3 separate regions of the Homo sapiens genome follow, and all the other regions are linked to region 2. The links are contacts of gene promoters, found by promoter capture Hi-C in human tissues and cell types (Jung and others, 2019). All regions are on one chromosome and are shown on one strand. The core of a region is centred on a gene start or on the middle of the fragment in contact, and the rest is flanking DNA. Distances in the headings are between cores, read along the strand shown.

Region 1 (3,400 bases), core at 671-3,170, 220 kb before region 2:
ACCCACCAGTGGCACATGAGTGTGCCTGTTCTTCCACATTCTTACCAACGCTTGCCATGTAAGATGTTTTCATTTGCACCAGTTGGGTTGGTGTGTAATGGTATTGTTGTTGTTTAAACTTGCTTTATAAGTGGCTTCCTCTTTTGGATGAAATGATTCCTAGAATGACTATGTCTGTGCTTTTTTCCTTTCTGGTTTTTTTTTTTTTTTTTTCAGCTTTTTTATAGATCAGAGGTCAAGAATTCCTATTTCTAGAGAAATTCTCAGTCTTTTTCCTGACCTGAATTACCTGCTTCTTGGTAGAGAGGGTTCAAACACGCTGGTATTTAGGCATTTATCAGGCTATTGTCATTTATATTTTTTTCTTCAAAGTACTGTATTAAGTCCTTAGTAAGGAATAAGGACTGTGTATATAAATAAACTATCTCTGCAACACAAAGGATTTATATTGATAGTCTCTTATTTTCTTCATCTGTAAAATGGAGCTGATCCTATCTACCTCAGAGTTTGGGGGCCTTCAATTAAATGAGGTAATAAAGTCAATATATTAATTGATATTCTTTTCTGCAAATCAGTCAATGAGTTTTGCATAGTTTAACTTCTAAAATACCTGGTGGTTAATGCCACAAATATTCTCTACTCAACAGAGTGATCAGATTGTTTTACATTTTTTAGCTCCATGAAATTTCTCTGTGAGGCTTCTAAAACCGAAAAATCCACTCTAGTCCACCCTAGCTTGAAAGTCATAGATTTGTATCTCTGAAAGCACATCTGGTGGTGGGGGATGGAATATGTTTTAAGGTTTAAAGGTTGTTTTTACAAAGAAATTTTGGAGTCCCTAAAATTTCAGCTTCTCTCATAATTGGAAAATACGTGTTGTATCTTGAGCTCAGATATGTAATATTGAGTTGATAAATGTAATAATGAGTTGATAAATGGGCATCTGGAAGCAGAAGTAAGAAGGTGAGAAAGAGAAGAAGAAAGGGTGAGAGAGGAAGACTGTGGGTTAAAAGAATCAGGACCTGACGCTAATCTGTATGTGAGCCTGTTTAAACTGTCCAATCCAGAGGACCCATGGTACATTTCTGTTGGCCAAAATCTCTCCCTCAGCAGGGACAATTTCTGGCCTGGCTGACACCACCACCCCCTGCATTAAAGCCTGTGAGTGGCCGTGGTTACAAATGGGAGCTGTTTTACAAAAGACTGAAGGAAACTGCCATTCACCAAACCATACAGAGGGCCAGGCTCCATGTTCGTTACATTCTGCCTTCATCATCTCATTCAACCCAAAACAGTGACAGACATTTATTTTTACATCCATTTCAAATAAAAGGAAATTTGAAAAGCACGCCGTCACTTCCCATCAGATTATCTTACTCTCCTCCTAGGAAGATAGATCTGCTTTACCACTCCTCTTGCCTTCGCACTCCAGGCATGGATTTCTTTTCTGTATATCCCCCTGGGCAAGGAAATTATCGAGCTGACTTCTTGTATCATGAAAGCATTACCGTTTATTATTTTCCAGATGTAATGCAGCATCAAATAATGGTTTTCCAAATCACACACAGTTTTTTTCTGTTCTACTCACCCATATGCATATGCACACACAGAGAGACACTGATCTATGCCCTTAGGCTGTTTTCTCCCAATGAGAGTCACTGATGTAGGAGAGAGAGGCAGACTCATAAACAAAACAAGAGAAGGAAAAGTATAAAATTGTGTGGTTACCACCCCCCAGTTCCAGAGAAGCAGTAAGAGACTTCTGAATGCTTCCAAGGCAATGGCAGCATGGGGGAAGAAGGAGGTGACACCCACCTTCACCCTGAAGTTGATCCATCTTGAGCACTAGCTCTCAAAGTGCTGTTCCCAGGCCAGCAGCAGCACCTGGGAACTTGTTAGAGATGTCAGTTATTGGACCCTACTGTAGGTGCCCTGAATCCAAATGTGAGGGTGGCTCCCCCACAGTCTGTGATCCCATAACCCCCCAAGTGATTCCAATGCACACTCAAGTTTCCAACCACTGGCCTGAAGCCCCATCCAAACGTTTAAATTCTAGAAGTACACAGAGGTTTCATTATGAAGTGTTTTCTATTCAACTCTTCAAAAATGAACCTGTGGACAGGTTCTACATCACATCTTCTCACGGCGTAGCTCCTCAACTTTTTTAAACAAAGACTTCATTTTAATGTAGTTTATATCCTTAGTGTCTTGTGCTGGTCCTAAACCTAATGGGTTGAGTCCAAGAATAAGGACATTGTGAGGATGCCTTCACACATGTATGGGTACACGTATTTGTTTCTCTGTAGGTGGTCAGAGCTTAATGTCTTTATTGACATTTTCTAGGATGATAACATTTGCCTCCAAGATGCCCAGCAGCCCTAGACATTGTCTGGGTCTGGATACTGTACAAGCTCTCAAATACAATCAGTGGGGAACACCCTTTAGCCAACTACGCTACACATATGGCCACTATGGCAGCCAGGTGTGATAAGATGAGTGATTCAGAAACCCCGTAAGTTTGAATTATAATCATAGAGGGAAGGGGATTCAATATTCCAGCTCCAGTTCTTGGTGTTCCTTGTATTCAGACTTTATATCACTCTAGCAGATGAAAATGCACTCACCTGGCTGGCACGCTTAGCCACTCCCCTGGGACTTTTTCCTCAGGATGTTTTTAAACAGCTTTCAAAACAGAACAGACTGCAGGGGAATTAGGAACATTTTGGGGACCTGTGTATTTTGCTTGGAAGCCTGTAGTTTTCACTGTCAGAAACTAACTTGTTTCTTCTATTAGACTATTTTTTTTCTTTATGGTGGCCTCTCTATATTTTATCCATCTTTGTATACCCCCTAGCATAGCTCCTGCAGGTACAGCCCTTTGGCCTCCCCAAATGAAATTGTTGGGATGGCCTAGAGTTGTGAAGTGTGTTATTTAAGTAGAGTGGCACAGGACTCTGACACAGGCTGGCCATCATAAAGCAGCACATTTTTGGCTGGAAAAAATTCCAAAGAGAAAATAAAGTACAGAAGCACCTTTTCTTACCTATGGGGCCAAACCATGAGTTGAATTGGTATTTTAGAGAAATACCTTTTCTGATCTTATTCTGACCTGTCTGCCTTTCCTGAATTGAAGGAGTTTCAGCAAGCTTGAAAGATGTCACTCTGGAAAAGACCAGCTTTTGCCGTGGGAAAGCCACAGGGAGGCAGCCTTTTTTAACTACTGTGAATTGGTCGTTTTCTTCTCTTTCTCTCTCTTTTTGCCTTCAGAGGACATCTTCTTTCCACCTTCTTTCCTCCACACCACTCAACCCTGTTCATTTCTACCTGTTTCATTTGCATATGATCAGTTTGTTATTTTATTTATTTATTTTTTTTGCCATTGTTGAACCCAAGGTTTTCT
Region 2 (3,695 bases), core at 1,130-3,629:
TCAAATTGTTTGTGGGTACACTCTGTAAACCTACAACAGGGCCTGCCAAAAAATCGGAGGGTTCCTCCTCATCTCCATCTCACAAATCTCAATTTGATGGAAATGTTCATTTTAGTGTAATTTCAGATTCGTTGCCAGAGATTCAGGTGATAGTAATAAGTGTCATTCTGCTTCTGCTGAAAAATGAAAAGGGTCCTGAAGTGTGGACACTGATTGGGAGTGTGACATTGTATCAGAAATGACCGAATTCTATTCCCAATACCAGTTTTTCCTTCCAGACATTTCTTTAGATTGTCTTTTACTTAGTGCTTCTCTATGATCCTGAATATTATTTGATTTTTATCTTCTTGCTCTTTTTATTAAAATCTGGGCACTCTAAAAATGAAAACAAATTTCTATTTGCAATGTTCACTTTTAAAAATAAAATTAATGGTGCTACGAAGAATTCTTTTTAATATCCTTTTTTTTCTACAAAGACTGTTTATATGTAAGGATAAATTCTATTTTAAAGGTTATGTGTATTTTTTCTAGATGTGAACTATTTATAATTACTTATGTACAGGAGCTTGTAAACTAGGCCCAATAGAAATATTTTTAGGATCTATATGGCTACTTTAGCACATAATTGTTTCTTTAAAGAGTATTGTATGATCAGTGTTATTTGGTTAATTTGTGCAATTTGTTTTATTTTATCTTAAATGAAAATTATGTAAAATGTCCTTGTCTTTCAGACTTTAAAAAATCTTTTTGTTTCCTTTCTGAATAAAAGTTATATCACATTTGCACCCTCTGAAAACAGAAAATAACTTGCTCAAGGACCTTTTGGCCCAGTCAGTTACTTGAATCATGACTCACACGTGCTCTTACAATGGGTTCCCAGAAGGAATAAATAAATTGGCCCTTTTGCTCCAGAGATAGTAATTTAGCCAATTGTAAGATCAGAGTCTGCAGACAGGTGAGTAATGGTCAAAGCATTTCAGTCTCCCCGAGGGGTTAACCAAATAGAAATGAAAGAAGGGGGAGAGGGAGGGAGGGAGGGAGAGAAGGAGCCTGAGGCAGATATGGAACGATCTCTGCAGAGGAATTACAAAGAAAGTCATTTAAGCCCCTTTACAGACCAGCTCTGCTGGGAGGATGCAGAAATAAATGATCAGCGTCCCGGCGTGAGAGAGCTGCCCCCAGAAGTGGCCGGGGGAGAAAAGGGTGAAGAGGAGCTAAAGCTTAGGAGGCGATTTCCACGGAAATGGATGCTCCCTAAGGATGTGCGGAAAGGGGATGGGAATGTGCGGATTGGGGGCGGGGGCACCAACGCACTCCGGCGGGCAAGCGGTCTCCCGCACCACCTGCTGCAAGGCTCGGGAAGGAAGGCGAAGATAGCACCGGGGCATCCCCGGGAGTCCGCAAGGTGGGTCACTTGGACTTTGCGGAAAGAAGACGAATTTGAGGGGTGTGGGGAGCAGCCAGAGGCCGAGTCCGAGGCTGGGATGGCCTTTCAGGAGAGGACGTGGGAGTATGTGCTAATAATCGGTGGCTTTGGGGAAAGCAGAATGGAGCCGGCTGGCGTTTGGGAGACAAGGAATGGAGGAGAACAACCCTCTTCCTCACCCTGATTTGCTTTCTGGTAGGACCTCACGGCAGGTGTCCCCGGGACGGCGTTCTCCTAGGCTAGGCGACCAGGGCGGTGTCAATGCACCCTCCAGCGGTGCGCGCAGGCGGGAGAAGGGAGGGCGGCCCGGGCAAGTGAGACAGTTAAGGCAGTGTCCCCACCACACCCCCACCCAGATTGGCCACGCCGAGCTGGTTCTTGACAGAAGGCCTTCGCGGAGGAAGAGGGGGCACAGCTGCACAGGACACCCTACGGAGCCTGCGGGCGTGGAACTTTGCCAGGCGCACGGGAACGCGCGCCCTTCCTGTCAGCCTCCCGGGGCGCCAGGCTCCCGCGGCCCGCAGCGGGACAGCCTCAGTTGTGTGGGCTGGACCCAGTCGCTGGGGTACCGACCAGTCCTGGAAGGCGCAGAGGACGTGGAGTGGGGAGGCTGCCTTCCTATGTGCGAAGGGCCAGCCGGGCACGCAGTCCTCAGACCCTAGTCCGCACCCGGCAGGTCCCCACGGCACCTGCTGCGCCCTCCTCGCCGCTCCCCCAACCTCCCCATCTCAGAAAACTACCAGTTCTCTCCCGCCCCCCGGCGCCCCTTTCCCAGGAACGTGCGGAGGCGGGAGAAGAGGAAGACAGGAAGGGGGTGGGGATGTGAAGCGACCGTCCCAGCCTTCCCCGCCCGCCACCCCCACCCCAACTCGGCAGCCGTCACGTGATGCCTGGAGTGGGAGGTGGGGAGAAAAGGCGAGACTTTTGTGGGTGCTCCCGATCGCCAGTAGTTCCTTCAGTCTCAGCCGCCAACTCCGGAGGCGCGGTGCTCGGCCCGGGAGCGCGAGCGGGAGGAGCAGAGACCCGCAGCCGGGAGCCCGAGCGCGGGCGATGCAGGCTCCGCGAGCGGCACCTGCGGCTCCTCTAAGCTACGACCGTCGTCTCCGCGGCAGCAGCGCGGGCCCCAGCAGCCTCGGCAGCCACAGCCGCTGCAGCCGGGGCAGCCTCCGCTGCTGTCGCCTCCTCTGATGCGCTTGCCCTCTCCCGGCCCCGGGACTCCGGGAGAATGTGGGTCCTAGGCATCGCGGCAACTTTTTGCGGATTGTTCTTGCTTCCAGGTGAGAATACCCAGAGGCCAGCAGCCGAGGCCAGGTGCGCACAATCCATCTACCCGCCAGCCCTTTTGCCCCCAAGGCGCCCACCTCGGGGCCAGCCCTGCGCTGGGGCTGCCCAGCGGGAGTTGGCGGCCGCGACTGGTGCCCCGGGGCGCGAGGCTGGGAAAGTGTCCAAGTCCCGCGCTGCAGGAGGAGAGCGGGGAGCGGCGGGTTTGCGGGACTCCGGGCTGCAGCTTGTCCGGCTGCACCGTCGGGAGAAGCTGGGCTTGAGAGGAGGGAGGGTCCGAGCGGTGCTGGGTTCTGGGCGAGGGAGAGGGGGCGACATCTCCCGAACCCTGCCAAGTTGTCTGGCGCCTCCGGCACCCCGTGGGAGTGGCGCCGCCGACAGGTGAGCGATGCGCGAGGCAGCCTGCGGCCACGCTGAAGCTGGGTTGCTGCGCTCAGAGTGCGATAGATGTGGGGCTGCGGGAGCGTGGGTAGTTGGGTCTAGACAGGAGCGCGTACACCGAGAACAGCCAGGCCGAAGCGTCCAGAGGCGCAAAGGTCTCGCGTCCTCTCTCCAGTTCGCCTACTGGCTCCCGACTAAGCTCTGCAGAGCTGGAACCCCGACCACTGACCCTAGTCGAACGGTTGTCCTGAAAGCCGGGGCCTGGAAGAAAGGGCTGCGGGGTCGGGGATCCAGGGTGCGCGCGCTCACAAACGCCCTTTCCCACCCTCTGTGGCCATTCGGGTCGCCGCGGGGACGGCCCCGGAGAAGGGCCGCCGACCCGGGCTCGGGGACTTGCGGCGCAGCAGCGCTTGGCGTCTGGCACCTCCACCCAAGTTGTTCCCAGGTGGTCGCTCAGGGATCCTCAGAGCCCTGGCACAGAAACGCTGACTTTAAAAATTAAATAAATAAAAACTAAAAAGACGTCTGCGAATGTAATCACGAATGGTGCCAAAATAGTAATTAAGTAATTTGTAACCAATTAGCAATTAGGCAAATCCTTTGGCTT
Region 3 (3,528 bases), core at 282-2,781, 150 kb before region 2:
TACATGGGCCTTGTCTGAAACTGAAACTATTTTTGCCTCTCCAACTTGTTCTTATGGCTGCTGACATTTCAAGTTGACTCACTGAATCAGTTAGAATAGGATAGGTCATGCTGTGGTAACAAACAACCATAAAATCTCCATGGCTTCAAATACAAAAGTCTATTTCTTTCTCATGCCACATGTCTTTTATGAGTCATCAGTCTTGCTGTGCACATGTTAAACACTCAGGAGACCTTGCTGATGGACCAGCCACCATCTCAAACATTGCCAGTCACTAGGCCAGCAAGATGAAAGCTCTGAGGGGGTTTCACATCTGTATTTAAAATGCTCTTGCTTGAAGCATTCCATCCACAATTCATTAGCCAGAACTAGTCACAGGGCCCCACCCAACCACAGAGGGGTCAGGAAGCACAACTGATGAACATACTCCCAAAAGGAAAGAGAGCTAGATTTATGTGATAGGCAGCACTTGTGACCACCATACACAATCAATATTCTTCTCCCTTCTTTCTTCTACTTCAGAGATTAGAAAGCCAAATATGCTATTTCTCAGCCTCCTTTTCTCCTAGTTCTGGCCTATGAGACCTAAAAGGAAATCTGCCATAGAGATTTATGACAAAACTTATGTTACCTGATAAAGGAGGGACAGATATGGCTCTAGATGTTCTTCATCCCCTCTTAACCCTTCTCTCTATCTGGAAGGTGGAAGCAATGCCAGGATGTGCAGCAGTCATCTTGGCATGAGCCCCTAGTAAAAGAGGGCAGAGCAGAGCAGAAAGATGGGAAGAGTTTAGTTCCTTGACAAGATCAATGAACTGTTACACAAGCCCTGGACTGCCTACCTCTGGACATTTGGCTATGTAAGAAATATAAATCCCTATAAGCTGAAGTAACTGTTAAGTGAGGCTTTCTGTTTTTTGTTTGTTTGTTTTTGCAGCTGAATGAAATCCTGAGATATTCCTTATTTATTCTGAACTTCAAGAGGAAAACATTCACATCCAAAAAGATGTATTACCCACAGTCACCCCAATACATTTGGGAGCTCCAGTGTTAGGTGCATATATATTTAGGATTCTGATATTTTCCTGTTGGATTATTCCTTTTATCATTATATAATGTCCCTCTTTTGTCTTTTTTACTGTTGTTGCTTTAAAGTATGTTTTGTCAGCTTGCTTTTGGTTTCCATCTGCATGGAGTATATTTTTCCACCCCATCCCTTAGGTTTATGTGAGTCCTTATGTGTTAGGTGAGTCTCTTAAAGACAGCAGATACATGGTTGATGGATTTTTATCCATTCTGCCATTCTGTATCTTTTAAGTAGAGCATTTAGGCTATTTACATTCAACATTAGTATTGAGATGTGAGGTATTGTTCTATTCATCATGTTAGTTGTCGCCTTAATACCTTGGGTTTTTTTTCCATTGTGTTATTGTTTTATAGGCCCTGTGAGATTTATGCTTTAAGGGAGTTCTATTGTGGTGTATTCTGAGGTTTTCTTTGAAGATTTTAAACTCCTTTTAGCATTTTATATAGTGCTGACTGAGTTGTGATGAATTCTCTCGGTATTTATTTATCTGAAAAAGACTTTATCTCTCCTTCATTTATGAAGCTTAGTTTCACTGAATACACATTCCTTGGCTGACAATTATTTTGTTTCAGGAGGCTGAAGATTGGACCCCAATCCCTTCTGGCTTATAAGATTTCTGCTGAGAAGTCTGCTGTTAATTTGATAGGTTTTCATGTATAGATTATCTTATGGTTTTGTCTCACAGCTCTTAAGATACTTTCCCTTGTTTTGACTTTAGATAATCTGATGACTATGTGCCTAGGTGATGATCTTTTTGCAATGAATTCCCTAGGTGTTATTTGAGCTTCTTCTATTTGAATGTCTAGATCTCTATAGCAAGGCCAAGTCTTCCTCAATTATTCCCACAAATAAGTTTTCCAAACTTTTAGATTTCTCTTCCTCAGGGACATCAATTATTCTTAGGTTTGGCCATTTAACAAAATCACAAATTTCTTAGAGGTTTTGTTCATTTTTTTAAATTATTTTTTCATTGTCTTTGTCTGATTGGGTTAATTCAAAAGCCTTGACTTCAAGTTCTGAAGCTCTTTCTTCTACTTATCCTAGTCTATTGTTGAAACTCTCCCTGCATGTTGCATTTCTCTAAGCATGTCTTTCATTTCCAGAAGTTGTGATTGTTTTTCTTTATGATATCTATTTCTCTGGATAATTTTGTATCCATTTCCCATTTTTTTTATTTCTTGAAGTTGATTTTCACCTTTCTCTTGTATCTCCTTGAGTAGCTTAATAATCAACCTTCTGAATTCTTTATCTGGCAATTCAGAGATTTCTTCTTAGTTTGGATCCATTGCTGGGGAGCTGGTGTGATCTTTTGGGCTTGTTATAGAACCCTGTTTTGTCATATTACCAGAATTACTTTTCTGGTTCTTTCTCATTTGGGTAGACTAATTCAATGGAGAGGCCAGACCTACTGGCCAAGCCTGCTGTTCAGATTCTCTTGTCCCACGGGGTGCTCCCTTGATGTGCTCTCCCCTTACCCCTGGGAATGGGGCTTCCTGAGAGCTGGACTGCAGTGACTGTTGTTGCTCTTCTGGGTCTATCCATGCAGCAGGGCTATCAGGCTCCAGGCTGGTGCTGTGGAATGTCTCCAAAAAGTCCTGTGATGCGGTCCATCTTCAGGTCTCTCAGCCATGGAAACCAGTACCTGCCCTGGTAGAGGTGGCAGGGGAGTGAAGTGGACTCTGTAAGTGTCCATGGTTATACGTATGTTCAATGTGCTGGCTTTCTTGAATACTGGTTATGCTAGCAGTGAAGTTGTCACATGGACACCCTCAGGACCTCTGGTTAGCCAAGGTGTTGCAGGCAGTGGAATCAAGTTTTGTCTTCTTCCTGGGATCAAGGTGATTCTGTCCTGAGTTGCTGTAATGGCCTGAGTTTGTTGGCCTCCAGCCAGGAGGTGGCACTTTCAAGAGAGCAGCAGCCAAGATGCTAGTAGGGGACTCTAAGCTTGCCCTAAGATGGCCAGAGTATTTTGGTTTTTCAGGTAATGGGTGGGGCCATAAAGCTCCCAAGAGTTTCTATGTTTTGTGTTCAGCTACCAGGGCAGGTAAGGAAGTACTACCCAGTCAGGGCAGGGTTAGGCAGGTGTGGGCTCAGACTCTCCTTGGGTGGAGCTTGCCACGGCCACTGTGGGGCATGGGGGAGTGATTCTCAGGCCAATGGGGTTATGTTCCAGAGGGGATGTTGGCTGTCTCTGCTGTGTTATATAGTTCACCAGGGAAGTGGGGGATAGCCTCACCCAGCTCCCAGGCAGTTGGTGAGGTGGGTCTCACTCCTGCAGTTCCCCACTCACACTTTGCCCCAGACTGTGAGCTACCCAGCTGAGAAAGCAAGCATGGCTTTCAGACCTCTCCCCTTCCTGTCTGTCCACTCTGTCCGCAGTAGCTCCTTCGCTAGCTCACTCCTATCCACAACAGCTCCTGCTGGTCCCCTGGACTCCACTC

What was found. The method cuts DNA at HindIII sites, captures the fragments that hold promoters and counts their contacts. A contact is called where the count stands out against the background at its distance.
Region 1: a contact is called between a fragment that was not itself captured here and the fragment with the promoter of LYPD1 in region 2, in 2 of the 25 tissues and cell types used here (mesendoderm cells and thymus).
Region 3: a contact is called between a fragment that was not itself captured here and the fragment with the promoter of LYPD1 in region 2, in 1 of the 25 tissues and cell types used here (mesendoderm cells).

What each region holds. Positions count from the first base shown.
Region 1 is chr2:132,889,811-132,893,210 of GRCh38, reverse strand. All of the region lies in intron 8 of NCKAP5 (NCK associated protein 5), which reads left to right. Among named protein-coding and RNA genes, the nearest start is that of NCKAP5-AS1, 24 kb to the left of the region's middle. The HindIII fragment of the contact is 4,819 bases long and covers 1-3,400 here.
Region 2 is chr2:132,668,889-132,672,583 of GRCh38, reverse strand. LYPD1 (LY6/PLAUR domain containing 1) reads left to right here and starts at 2,379. Exons shown (of 3, transcript NM_144586.7): 1 at 2,379-2,703. The coding sequence starts at 2,652. NCKAP5 (NCK associated protein 5) reads left to right here. Exons shown (of 20, transcript NM_207363.3): 20 at 1-796. RefSeq lists an enhancer at 2,553-3,516. The HindIII fragment of the contact is 6,763 bases long and covers 1-3,695 here.
Region 3 is chr2:132,821,535-132,825,062 of GRCh38, reverse strand. All of the region lies in intron 11 of NCKAP5 (NCK associated protein 5), which reads left to right. Among named protein-coding and RNA genes, the nearest start is that of NCKAP5-AS1, 92 kb to the left of the region's middle. The HindIII fragment of the contact is 4,902 bases long and covers 1-3,528 here.